2 separate regions of the Homo sapiens genome follow, and region 2 is linked to region 1. The links are contacts of gene promoters, found by promoter capture Hi-C in human tissues and cell types (Jung and others, 2019). All regions are on one chromosome and are shown on one strand. Each heading gives the region's core, a stretch centred on a gene start or on the middle of the fragment in contact. The rest is flanking DNA. Distances are from core to core; before and after follow the strand shown.

Region 1 (7,151 bases), core at 3,129-5,628:
GGACCCCATGCTAAAGATGAAGAATATAGGCTGAGTGCCCCTGGGAGGATCCCTGCCCGGTCGGTGCCTCGGCAACCCCATAGTACAGTGAGCAAATAGCATGAGCTCTTATGCGGGATCTGCCACCTTAACCACCTTGTGATGACCTTGACAGGCTCCCCCATTTCTCTTAGACTAAAAGCCAAAGCCCTTATCAGGCCTATGTGGTCCTCCATGATCTTTTTTATTTATTTATTTATTTATTTATTTATTTATTTATTTATTATTTGTTTTTTGAGACAGAGTTTCACTCTTGTTGCCCAGGCTGGAGTGCAGTGGCACAATCTCGGCTCACTGCAACCTTGGCCTCCCGGGTTCAAGCAATTCTCTTGCCTCAGCCTCCCGAGTAGCTGGGACTACAGGCACGCGCCACCACGCACGGCTAATTTTTGTATTTTTAGTAGAGATGGGGTTTCACCATGTTGGCCAGGATGGTCTTGATCTCTTGACCTTGTGATCCACCTGCCTCGGCCTCCATTACAGGCGTGAGCCACTGCACCTGGCCTATTTTTATTTTTAATAGAGACAGGGTTGGCCGGGCACGGTGGCTCATGCCTGTGATCCCAGCACTTTGGGAGGCTGAGGCAGGTGGATCACCTGAGGTCAGGAGGTCAAGACCAGCCTGGCCAACGTGGTGAAACCCCATCTCTACTAAAAGTACAGAAATTAGCTTGGTGCAGTGGTGGGCGCCTGTAGTCCCAGCTACTTGGGAGGCTGAAGCAAGAGAATGGCTTGAACCCAGGAGGCGGAGGTTGCAGTGAGCAGAGATGGCACCACTGTACTCCAGCCTGGGCAACAGAGTGAGACCCTGTCTCAAAGGAAAAAAAAAAAAGGGGGGGGGGTCTCACTATATTGCCCAGGCTGGTCTCAAACTCCTGGGCTCAACCAATCCTCCCACCTCAGCCTCCAAAGTGCTGGGATTACAGGCGTGAGCCACGGTGCCTGGCTAGCCCTCTATGATCTCTCCTTCTCCCATGACCTCTCTGATCTTACTTCCTCTTACTGTTCCCTTCCTCTGCCCATCCACACTGGTCTCCTTACCCCTCCCTAGACAAAGCACACTCTCAGCTTAAGCCTTTGCATTCACTTTTCCTTCTACCTAGAATGCTCATTCCCAGCAAACACCTTTAAGTCTCTTGTTCAGATGTTACCTTCTGAATGAAGCTTCCTCCACCTGCTTTCAACTGCAACTCTACCTCCTCCAGCATGCTTAGTCCCTCTTCCCCTGCTCTTTTTTCCTTAATGCTTATTATGTTCTAAATAATTCACTTATTTATTATGGTGATTGTCTACACCAGAAGGGAAGTTCCATGAGGACAGGGATCACTGGTTCACTGCTGTATCCTAAACAGTTCCAAAAAGGTCTGGCACACAGTAGGCACCCAATATGTAACTGCTGAATGCTTGCTGAATGCCAACCTCGCTGCCTACACCACAGCTCCTACGCCTAGAGATGAACATGTTGCCTGGGCGAAACAGGTGCAACAGGCCCACATGGACCCTCAACCACTCATGCCAATCACCACCACAGGCTTCCCCAGAAACACTGGTTCTGGGGCATCTGCTCTGCCTTGCCCCTTCTTCTGAGGCCTTAAATATGCTCATTCCTTGGAGTTCCTTTTCCAGAGATACATCTGCTTTCCTGGTTCCAGCTTCACCCTTCCAAGATGCCCAAGCTGCTCCATCTTCAATCTGGGGTCCCTGCTGAGCCCTGGGCCCAACTACTCCAACCCTGACCTCCTGGTATCCTCCTCACTGGGGACCCAGAGAGGGCCAGTCAGATCACTGCAAATCTCCTTACTAAGATATCACCCCAGGGGCCGCGCGCGGTGGCTCATGCCTATAATCATAGCACTTTGCGAGGCCAAAGCAGGTGGATCAGTTGAGATCAGGAGTTCGAGACCAGCCTGGCCAACAAGGTGAAACCTCATTTCTACCAAAAATATAAAAAATTAGCCAGGTGTGGTGGTGCACACCTGTAATCCCAGCTACTCGTGAGGCTGAGGCAGGAGAATCGCTTGAAGGAGGTGGAGGTTGCAGTGAGCCAAGATTGTGCCACTGTACTCCAGCCTGAGGGACAGAGTGAGACTCCATCTCAAAAAAATAATAATAATTAAAAAAATAAGATATCACACCAGGGGAGTTCCTCTTCAGTGTTGCCCCAAGGAAGTTCCTCTTCCTGACTTCTTGAATTCCACCTGTGGGACTAAGGATGTCCCTGTCACATAGATAGGAAACCTGCCAGTCATTTATGACTTCTCACTCTCCTTCCCTGGGCAGCGCCGTTAGCCACCAGGTCCCACGTGAGTAATGTCTTTATCCCCTATTGAACCCTAACTCCTCATCTTGACTCCCAGAAAACATGTGTCCCAGCTGGGCATGGTGGCTCACGCCTGTAATTCAGCACTTTGGGAGGCCGAGGCAGGAGGGTCACCTGAGGTCAGGAGTTCGAAACCAGCCTGGCCAACATGGTGAAGCCCAGTCTCTACTAAAACTACAAAAATTAGCTGGGCATGGGGGTGTCCGCCTGTAATCCCAGCTATTCAGGAGGCTGAGGCAAAAAAAGAAAAGAAAACATGTGTCCCACAGCCAAGACTAGGTCTTGTCTGGGGTCACAGTAACTTCCTATTGAATGGAAGAAAATAAAGCAGGGTGTTATAACCGGACTGAGCATCAGGAGACCTGGCTTCCTGACCTTGAGCAAGTTCTTTCTCTCTCTGAGCTCAGTTTCCCCATTTGGAAAAGTCATCCAATTGGACTCCATGATCTCTGCAGGCCCTTCCTTCATACACCTGTCATCTAATACTTCATGAAACATTTGCTGAAATGTCCTCATTTCTGAGAAAAAAAACCCACCTGGGTTTTTCTCATTCTTGTGTTGACGGAGTTATAGTTCTCATCAGCTTCCTCCTTCTGGGGCTCTATGGCTGTGGGAAGACACAGGGGTATTGGGGGTACTTGTCTCCATAGGATTTTTAGGGAAATATAATTTATCATAAAATGACTAAGGCTGAGCCTCTAAGAGGAGAAAGTAAGTTTATTTTTCTTTGCATTACATCACTGAGTTCCCATAGGTATGCAGAGGCCACCTAACAAAACTCCATCTCCCTGCCCAAAGAATGCCCAGTGGGCAGCGATAACTGTGTAAGTAAATGGTTTCATTGTAAATAAAAGAACCTGAGAGGCGGACTTGTGCTGTGGAGAGTACAATGGCCTGGAGGCCAGGAGACAGATGCTAGACCCAGGCCTGCTGTGTGACCTGGATATATCACTGGCTTCTCTGGGCCACACACTCCCCAGATATACCAACAACAGGGCAGGATCAGAGGGAAGGATCTGTCTGAGGTCCCAGGAGCTCACCCTTCAGCTGCAGGCGGATCTCCCTCCCCAGCTGTTTGATCTCATCGCGCAGGTTCTGCAGCTCCTGCTTCATGCCTGAATAAGAGAAGGCCAAGACTCCCAAACAGCAGCCCCCACCTCAACAAACCACTCTGGCCACCACCTGCGTGGAACTACAACCCCCACAATCCCTGGGGCGGAGCATGCGCCCTGCAGCCGGGGTTTCACTCACTCTCCTCGGGAAGGGGCGTGGCCAGGATGGTGACCTGCTGTTTCTCCAACTCCTGGACTTTATTCCCCAGTTTGACAATAGTCTGCCGAATTGTCCGGACCTGGGGAGGGTGACCGAGAGGGCTGAAAGAGATATGGGGTACTCCAGACCACGCTACTCCTCGGGTCCTCCTACACCCTCGCGAATCCAGGCGGAGACCCCAGCCCCTTACCTTGTGGAAGAACTCCTCGTCCGGGCTCCCCAGCCGTGCCGTGCCCGGGTGCACCACCAGCGCGACCCGCTCCTTGTCCTCTTCGTCCGAGCTGTCATCCCCCTGCCAGGCCCGGAGTCATTGGCACCACCGTTTCGCTGCGGCTCTTACCCCGCAGGACCCACAGGCTTCCGGGACTTTCCTTCCTGGCCATCAGCCACCCCTCCCTATCCCGAAGACCAGAAGTCCTGCGTTCCAGTTCGTCCGCCCGTCCCCATCCCCGCTGCCCTGGCGTCTCACCTGTCTCAGCTCGTGGGTCCTGTCCCGCATGGCGGCCTGAGCTCTCCCTCCCCGGCGCCAGAGCCGGGAGGCCCTCAAATTTGGAATTCCCGTACCCCGCTCACACTCTGACACTCCCCTCCCTCCCCCTGCGGACCCCAACACCCCCACGAGCCGCCAGAGGCTCCGTCCCTTGCACCGCCCACAGTCAATGGGAAGGCGCCGACCCCGGGGACCCCCCAAGGTTCCACAGGTTGGAATTCCCTTTTCTTCCCCGCTCCAGCTCCCGCAGCCTCAGCCCCGCCCCTCCGTGATAAATTCGGGGCATGCGCACATGGTCGCGTCTCTTCCTTGCCCGAGGCTGGGAAGGTGGAGTCGGAAGTTGTTGCGCCCCGAGCGGAAGCGGAGATGCCTGGACGCGAGAACTTGCTACCGTCACCGGAACCGTTGCATCTTCCAACGGAAATCTGGTTGCCAAAAGGGGTAGGAATACGTCATTTGTACGTAATCCGAGACACCCGCATCTCACATCACCCCATGGTGCCCCCACCGCGTCACGTGACCAGCCCGGTCCCAAACTCGTGGACCGCAGAATGTGACCCTGTGACTGTCACGTGTCCCGGCTCTGTCACCGCCGTCTCTGGGACGCCGTTCTCATCACGACGTCCCCGGCACCCCAACGACCGAGCGACGCCCACACGGCCCCCGCGAGGTGGGGAGGGGCGCGCCGACCACCCCCAGAGGCCTTTCGAGGCAGTGGGTGGTAGGACCCTTGCTGACCTCGCCTTTATTGCTTTCGGGTCCAGGGCGTGGGCGGACTGACGACTTAGCATTTGGGGCTGTCAGCATCATGGGACCTTGAAAATCGGGAAATAATAGGATCCGAGTCGTCAGCGTCAGAAAATTGCAGGGTTGTGTGGGCAGGGAATCTGGGGGTGGGAAGTGACCTCAGCCAAGGCAGAAATCTCTTCTTCCGCATCCTTCTGGCGCAGCCTCTGACAGGTGGGCGGCCAGCCGGCGCCCTCCTTGAACACTGCAGCCCGGCTGCACTCACCACCTTGTGAGCCGTCAGACCATGTCAGGGCAGCTCAGGCTAAGAAAAGTGTTTGTATTGATCACGCTGCCTCCCTGCCACTCACACCCCCCAGCCCCTGCCTTGCATCTGAGGCCAGGTAATGACTTTGTTCTTAACTGAATCTGGGGAGTTCCTAGCCCAGTACCAAGAACATTACGGGCCCTCTATAAATACTTGTGGACAGAATTTCAGGCTTTCATGTATCTGAGGATAAAGCCCCTGGTTCCTTGGTCTTCTTTAGGCTTCAGGCTTTCTGACTGTGACACTTCTCTAATCCTGGCTATCTAGATATTCACTCATTTTTTATTTTTAAAAATTTTTACGAGATGCGGTCTCACTATGTTGTCCAAGCTGGTCTCTAACTCCTGGGCTTAAGCAATCCTTCTGCCTCAGCTTCCCAAAGTGCTGGGATTACAGGCATGCACCACCATGCACAGCAACATTCAGTCATTTAATGGATATTTTTTGGGCACATAGTATGGGCCAAACACTGTTCTAGGGCTGGAGATACATCAAGGACTAATAGACAAAAATTCCTGCACTCGTGGAACTTATATTCTCTAGAAGGAGTCCCCAAGGTCACTCAGCAAGTCTCAGCATAGCCGGGAATGAATAACAGGTCTCCTGGACCCCAGGGCTCTGTCCAGGAAGCTTCTGTGAAGGTACAAGCAAGGAAAGGAATGGACCCTTTCTGCTATGCCCTGGTCAGGAAACCTAGATTCCTGGGACTGAGTTGCTATGGACTTCTGGAAATCGCTTCCTGTCTCTAAGTGTGGATCTCCCTCTGCACAGTGGGTAACTGTAGGGGGATGGGGAGATCATCTTTATGGGTATCGGCTGCTCTAAACTTCAGTGATGATGAGGTTGGAAACTGTCAAGTGCTGTGTGATTCTATGTGAGGAGTTTTGGCTCTTCTCCTCTTCCTGTTAAAACCCAGCTCAGGCAGGGTGTGGTGGCTCATGCCTGTAATCCCAGCACTTTGGGAGGCTGAGGCAGGCAGATCACCTGAGGCCAGGAGTTGGAGACCAGCCTGGCCAACATGGCGAAACCCTGTCTCTACAAACATACAAAAATTAGCCAGGCATGATGGCAGGTGCCTGTAATCCCAGCTACTTGGGAGGCTGAGACAGGAGGATTGCTTGAACATGGGAGGTGGAGGTTACAGTGAGCTGAGATCACGCCATTGCACTCCAGCCTAGGTGACAGAGTAAGACTCTGTCTCAAAAACAAAACAAAACAAAAAAAAAAAACCCAGCTAGTAGGAGAGTGGTGCCCTGATGAACCCACAGAGGGAATGCAGGGTTTTTCCGGAGGCCAAGCCCTGCCCAGTGGTGTCCCCTGGAGATGATAAGGAAAGATTCTCTGCTCCTGGGTCTTTCATGTCAGCCTCTGCCTCTTCAGTCACTGCTGCTTGCCTCCTGCATCTTTTGTCCCCTGCCACCCGACCCCCTTCCCCCTCCTACTCTGTGTCTCTGAGTGGCACACGGTGGAAGGGCTCTTGGACCCCTGACTCATAGTCCTGCATGGGATCTTAAATAATGCATTACTTCTCTCTGGGACTCAATTTCCCCATTTGGCGGCTTGGTCCTATAATTTCTGCCTTGCCTAAGGTAGGACTTGAACACTATCAAGTGAGGTTAGGAAGGATGTGGAAGGGGCTGGAAAACTGTTGAGGGTACCCTCCCCTCTGGGCTTTTTTTTTTTTTTTTTTTTCTTCTCTTTGAGGTCAGGTCTGGTTCTGTCATCCAGGCTGGAGTGCAGTGGTGTGCTCTCAGGTTCAGTCAATCCTCCTGCCTCAGCCTCCCAAGTAGCTGGTACTAAGGCACGCACCACCATGCCTGGCTAATTTTTGTATATTTTTTGGTAGAGACTGGGTTTCGCCATGTTGCCCAGGCTGTTCTCAAACCCCTGGGCTCAAGTGATCCACCCACCTTGGCCTCCCAAAGTGCTGGGATTACAGGTGTGAGCCACTGTGCCCAGCCTCTCTGAGCTTTTAA
Region 2 (7,151 bases), core at 2,400-4,899, 820 kb before region 1:
GAGTGCAGTGGCCCGATCTCAGCTCACTGCAACCTCTGCCTCCTGGGTTTGAGTGATTCTTCTGCCTCAGCTTCCTGAATAGCTGGGATTCCAGGTGCCTGCCATGATGCCTGGCTAATTTCCGTGTTTTTAGTAGAGACGGGGTTTCACCGTATTGGCCAGCTGGTCTCAAACTCCTGACCTGAAGTGATCCGCCTGCCTTGGCCTCCCAAAGGGCTGGGATTGCAGGCATGAGCCACCGTGCCCGGCCTGGAGAGTTTATTTGTTAGAGCCTCAGATATGGCACATGAGAGGTACACCAGCATGAACTCAAACATATTCAGAACTGGTGCCTTGGGGGAAAATCTATAGATTAAGTGCATGAGAAGTCACCACTTCAGTATCAGATGATGTTTGATTAAGAAAGTGTAACTCCAAATGTGGCAATCATGATCAAGGTTAAAGTTAGCACTAGTTATAACATAGGTGTGGTTGGTGGTGTCTCAGAAGCAAATAAAAGTTGTCAGTTGCTAAGAATGTGTTAATCATTTTATTCCACATGCTCTCATGCTGACTGTGTAGTTAAACATCCCTGTAAGTAGAAACAACTTCACTGTAAGCGCTATGTAAGCCTGGTGCAGGGGGCATTTTCTTCATTCCCAAAAAAGTTTTACATAGACTACCTGTAATATTGAAACGTAGGGACAACTGGGGACCATGTGTGAAGGCCCCCAGAAATTTCTTCAGTTAGCAAGGATGTTTGGTAAAGCAACACAGAAATTAAACAAAGTTTGAAACTATAGTTATTGCTTCTACTTTATTGGCAATAACTGAGACCAGACAACCCTCCTGGGCAAAATTACCTAAGAAAACAAGCTTGCACACGTTAAAGTTTGAAACCCATCTGTCCTACACTGATCTTTTCCAGGAATTAAATGTGTTCAGTTTTTCCTTTTGTTGCTCCCCTTTCCAATAATCTCGAGGCCAGGGCTGTCCTGCTTCTACAGGTGACATGACAGTTATGGGCCTGGAGGGAGACGAGCTGACAGTATCCCTTCTTTATAACCAAGTCTCAGGGACCACCATCCACACACACAGACTCACTCCAGGACTCCGCTGGGCAAATGGATGTTTCTCAGCTTTAGTAAAAGTGAGTGATCACGACTTACGTTGGTAGTGGCAGGAGGATTTTCTCAATGATGTAGATAACTCTCTCATAATTTTGTTCTTGTGTCTCACTGAATTATAACTATTTTCAGATAAAAATATAAATTTTAATATCATGAGCACATAAATTTACAGATGTTCGAAAGGATATTTGTAATTTTGTAATGGTATATGTTATAGGTAAGACGTTTATTTAGAAACAGAATGCTTGTTTTTCGGTCATGTAAGGAAAAATTAGCATTTAGACAAAAAGGTTTTTTTAGCAAGGAAATTTTACTTTCTGCAGAAAGGGTGCTCCTTGCAGATGGAACAATGGCAAGAGCACATTTGAACAAGGGAGGGAAGCAATTTTTATTTTTTATGTAGCTTGTCCCTGCTCTTGTGTCCTGTTTTTATTGGCTGGAGACAGACTTCATAATTTAAATTAAAACCTGATTGGCTAATAACTTAAAATTTTTTAAACAGGTAAAAGCAATGGAAAGATAAATGAAAAGAGGAAGTTGTTTATGAAAGGACTTAGAAAAGTAATAACATTCCTAAATAAGGAAGTGACAGGCTGTGAGCTGGGACATGCCTGTGAGCACATCCAGGACAGGTATTTCCGTTAAGGCACAAGGACATAGAATGTACTATGTGCCTGTGAGCATGTTTAACAGCTACATAGGATAGGGCTTAAACAAAGAGTTATTAGCACAAAGTAAGGAGGCTTGAAAGAAATTAGTCTTTAAAAGAAACTATTATTTCTAACACTTATTTATCCTGTAACAAGAATGGAAACTTTGAAGAGGAAACTTTTTACTTTCTGCAATTCCTTCCTTTTGATTTTATAGCTTTTTTTCTTTAAAATTTTTTAACATGTTTTGGTTTAGCTGTTTTGCTTGAGTTTTTAAAAGAAAAAGTTTTTCTGGTTGGTGAAATGCCACGGTAAAAGGGATAGCCAATTGAACTAGAGCACAAATATTGCTTTAATTATTTGGCAGAGTGTTCAGTAAAGGTCTTCTACAATATTATTACATACCTGTTTGGTGATGAATAAGGGGGGATTGATGGGTCAGCTCTTGGAAGTGCCTGACTTCACTGCATTAAGTTTTCAAGGAACACTAAATTTTTCCCTTGTTGTTGGAGACACCAGGTAAAATTGGTCTTGGAAGATGGAGGCTAGATGGCCCTCGGGGGCTGACCCGCAGGGTACTGCATTTTAGGAAATAGTAGCGAGAGCGTTTGACACAGTTTATTATCTCAGGCTGTAGGATTTTGAAAAGGAGCTACCATGTAGTCCATGTTTTGTTGATTAGAGGACTATTTGAGTGGAAAGGGGACAACCTGGGCCTCTAGCCTACCATGCACACGTGTTTAACGGTCACTTTTATTTAGATGCAGATGAAATATTTAATTTATTTTAACCAGCCATTTACATTTTGATATCCTGTTTTAATTGTTATTGTTTGCTTTAGGTTTTTTATTTTTACTGTAGAGACTTTGGTCTTGTTTTTGTGTCTGGGAGGAGTGATAACTAAACAGGCATTAAAAGTAGTAACTTGAGGTGAGTTAGATTTAGTTATATTAATAAGATAGGAAGTAGTTAAAGGGAAGAAAAGAAAAAAGATAGATAGATTACGTTTTTATAGCTTTAACTTGGTAGGGCTTAACCCTGGAACAACGGCCTATGACTTTGACGGTGATGACGCTTTTTTGACTCGGGTATGTGGTGTTCATTCTCTTCTGCTGTGGGAACCGCAGTCTTGGTGGGTTAGCAGCACAAGGTAGGGTTTTTCTTAGGCTGGCTTGAGTTTTTCTTCTTTTTATCCTTTGATAAGGACATGGTTTCCAGGCTGGTGCTGGTTTACTGGAAATTTTAAGAGTGGCACCTGTGCTAGAAGACTTTTAGTTTTGAGGAAAAGGAAAGTGGAAAATAAGTATGTAATTTTTGAGAAACTGATTTTTTTGTTGTTGTTTTAAATGTGCGGATATCAGCCGTGGAATGTAAGTAAGGCAACCTATAGGTAGTTTTTGACTTAAATTTCCTTTTTTAATTTTTACTTATGTTGTTTTTGAGGGAAAATTTGGGGTCCCTCAGAAAGTTAGAACTTTGCATATCCTGGGGCCCGAAGCCCCACGGTGACGCCTCCCGCTTCATTCCCGTTCAATGTAGCCTAGGGGATGCTGTGGCCCTGGCCCCTCTTAAGGTCCCGGCTTCCCTGCGGCCTTTACTGCTACCATGCATTGCGGCCTTGTGGGGATGAGGGTCCTTGTGACTTACCGCACTGCCCCCAGACCTTGCTCCTGCCAGAGACCCCACTGTCTAGCCCCTGGCCTTGGGCTGGGCTGGGCTGTGCTGTCTGACAGTTGTTTGGCCCCCTCCCTTGCACCTGTAGTGTTTGTCCCCCCCACGCCCTCGCAGGCTCTCACTGCAGCCTCTGTAGGAGCCGCTGGAGGTGGAAACTTGTTGGTATTAAACCTGTGCTGGAGAGCCCCAGTGGGTTTTTTGATGCAGTTGGAACAAGATTTTTTTAATAAGGGGTTTGGATAACATTTTTTTAATTTTGGTTTAGCAATATTTATTTTCCTTCTGAATTTTCTTTAGCATCTATTTAAAAAATGTTAATGTAGGTAAAAATTCACATTCTTATGTTTTCTTATAATTTTTTTCTAAAAGTATATTTTACTTTCCTTATATACCTTGCACACAAGTTGCTTCTTTAATAGTTTTACATTTAGGAGGCTTAATTATTTTTAAATTATATAATTTTTTGCATAAATTCCCTTTTATAAAATTTTTTAGGACTTTTACAATTTTTGACATGCCTTAACTTTTAGATAAACTTTTAGACTTTTTTTACACTATTTTTTCCCTAGTTTTATTTTTTGTGTTTTTTTATCTTTGTTTTTTCCAGTCTTTTTTTTTTTTTACTTATTTTTTCCTTCTATCTCTCTCCTTCATTTGCGTTTTCTCCTTCTCTCTGTCACCTCCTGTTTCCTCTTTCTCTCACACTTACTTGTTGGGTGGGATCTTCATGGCTGCAGTCCGTGCCCTGGGCCACTGTCAGCCTAGAGGCTCAGCAGATGCCTGCCATAAGTTGCATGAGTTATTAACCCTGGGCCAGAGGGTCCCCTTGTTTTTCCTCCTTACTTTTATATCCACAGCCCTTACACCATTTATTTTTACCTTCTCCTTTAAAGTACTGACCTTGCCTTCTTTCTTTTTGCATTCCTGAATTCCCTGACTTTTTCCTTTTACCTCTTTTAGAAAACTTTGGAACTTGCCAACAGATTTTTGCTTTTTGTATCTGCCCTTCTCTTTCTCTGTCTGCTGGTCTTTCCCTGCCTCTGCCAGCTGCCCATGCTGCTATTTTCCCCTCTCTTTCCCCTTCCCCTAGGGAGCAGCCAGTGGGTGTGGAGCTTAGCGTTTTTCTTCCCCCAAGAAGAAGGGAAAGGGAAGTTTTGAATATATTTGTTTACTACCGGAGGTTTGTGTGATCTTTAATCTCCCCCAATGGGGATTTTTCACCCCTTTTTTTAACCTCTAAGACAACCCAACTAAGGATTTTTTCACCGCCCCCCAGCCCCGCAGCTTTTCTTTCCTCTGTCTTGACTAAGGCATGCTTTACCGCCCCTGCAATTTCTTTTACCTTGGTGTGCTTTAACCAAGGAATGCTTTACCACCCCACGGCTTTTTTTCCTTAGTTCTGACCACCAAGGAAATACTTTAACTGCTCCTCCAGTGTTTTCGTTGTTTGGCTCATGCACAAGGTCGCCCAGTCTACATGGTATGTAAGGATCCTTTACTCCAGGTTGCCAACTGGTTTCTTTCTGCACTGCTGAGAGTCTGGGTTTATTTGTCATGCTGGGTGGGTTTTGATTCCTTACCCATAAGGCCACCGCAATGAGGCAGTGGGGCCCCTCCTCATGAGAGAGGACTAGAGACCGACCCCAGAGGAGAATGTATGGGCCACCATTTTGTTACATGTAAAATGTTTATTTAGAAACAGAATGCTTGTTCCTCAGTACTGCAAGGAAAAATCAGCATTCAGACAAAAAGTTTTCTTAGCAAGGCAATTTTACTTTCTGCAGAAAGGGTGCTCCTCACAGATGGAACAATGGCAAGAGCACACCTGAACAAAGGAGGGAAGCAATTTTTATCCTTTATGCAGCTTGTCCCTGCTACTGTGTCCTATCTTCATTGACTGGAGCCAGACCTCACAATTTAAGCTAAAACCCAATTGGCAAATAACTTAAAACTTTTCTAAATAGGTAAAAGCAATGGAAAGACAAAGGAAAAGAGGAAGTTGCTTATAAAAGGACTTAGAAAATTAATAACGTTCCCAACTAAGGAAGGGGCATAGGTTGTGAGCTGGGACATGCCAGTGAGCACGTCCAGCACAGATGTCTTGGTTAAGGTACGAAGACATAGAATGTACTATGTGCCTGTGAGAATGTCTAAAGCTACATAGGATAGGGCTTAACGAAGAGTTATTAGCACAAAGTAAGGAGGCTTGAAGGAAGTTAGTCTTTAAAAGAAACTGTTATTTCTAATGCTTATGATTTATTCTTTAACAAGAAGGGAAACTTTGAAGAAAAAACTTTTTACTTTCTATAGTATATTTGAATTGAAATTTTACTTGACTATTTCTCATAATAAATTAATACAACAATAAATTATTTTTATGCATTTATGGAAAGTTTTATGTTTTAAGGCACAATAATCTGAACTAACTCAGAATTCTTTAATTATGCTCTGTTTTTTTGGTTGAAAGTACTTAGTGTATTTCCAATAATATAAGACTATTTAGATAAGGATGTTGTAAAGTAATGATTTGCAAACTTGAATGACACAGCATTCACACATTATTTTAAGAATCCTCTAAATTCACTATCCCTACTTTTTTCCCTTAAGGTTTCAATTATAGTTAACTCAGTAAAACATGTATTTGCAAAAACTGACAAGTTCGTTTCAAGTTAACTGTTGAAATTTACAAGTTAACATTATCTAAATTCAATAAGGTTAGTGCCTTCTAGTGTCTATGTGTCTTTAAAATGGAAAACAGAGGACACAATCAGGACACTTGAAAACAAAAGGAATAAAATGATAATGACAGAAATTGTCAATTATCTGTGGCTCACAAGGGCATCAAAACCTCAAAAAACTTGATCAGTACAAAACTTCTCTGTCCCTGCTCACTAGAGGAGTTTGAGTTTTCCTTAAAATGTGTCTTGCATTTCAGGTAGACGAGAAAGATGTGTGAGAGCATGGGTCTTTATTAATCTTGATCAGAGTTCCTGAGCACAGAGGATATGCCCTCCATTTCCTTCCTAATAAAATAATTGGTGCAATTCATATGATTGTGAACTTCTCATTAATGTGTGGCACAGAGATTTAATGGTAAAAGATCTTAAAGTCTTTAGAAAAAGAAAGTGTTATATTTTAATCATAACTTTTCAGTTCTGGTAGTTAGAAAAACCCACTGCCAACCAGGATTTTAAGGCTTCCAAAAATTTCTGGCACAGTATTTTGGATCAAATTCCTCCAGTGTGTTTCTGTCCCCTACCTCTGCAGTGACATTTCTCATGCCCATGTGTTTCCTCAGTTGAGCCAAGAATAAAATGTCTTCAGATTATGAATGTCCACAGCGAGTATTGTACTTCCAGATGCACCATACTCTTAAGTTAAATTGCTAAAGAGTAGTAGATGCGTTTCAGTTTTTTAGAGGTGTCTGGACCTTAACATTATTCTCTTGCCATTTGTACATTTCACAAATAATTTTCATGAAACTTATTTAGCCAGGAAAGGTAATTCCCTTCCCTGATGTTGCCAGCTGTGTTTCTATGTTGCCCAGGCTGGTCTTGAACTCCTGGCCTCCAGCAAGCCTCCCACCTTAGCCTCCCAAAGCACTAGGACTACAGGTGTGAGCCACTGTGCCTGGCCTTTAATCATGACTCCTGACCTTGAAGCATACACTCTCACCTTGACTCTGACCTTGCTGTCATTCTGACACCTCTCCCTCCTC

What was found. Contacts are between HindIII fragments. The study calls those that stand out against the background at their distance.
Region 2: a fragment that was not itself captured here is called in contact with the fragment with the promoter of STX4 in region 1 in 2 of the 25 tissues and cell types used here (lymphoblastoid cells and spleen).

The regions. Positions count from the first base shown.
Region 1 is chr16:31,030,785-31,037,935 of GRCh38, reverse strand. STX4 (syntaxin 4) reads right to left here and starts at 4,378. Exons shown (of 11, transcript NM_004604.5): 1 at 4,101-4,378; 2 at 3,822-3,923; 3 at 3,611-3,710; 4 at 3,400-3,474; 5 at 2,896-2,966; 6 at 1-10. The coding sequence starts at 4,130. RefSeq lists enhancers at 3,520-4,030, 4,543-5,054. The HindIII fragment of the contact is 15,943 bases long and covers 3,505-7,151 here.
Region 2 is chr16:31,846,827-31,853,977 of GRCh38, reverse strand. No RefSeq gene overlaps it. Among named protein-coding and RNA genes, the nearest start is that of ZNF267, 23 kb to the left of the region's middle. The HindIII fragment of the contact is 6,664 bases long and covers 318-6,981 here.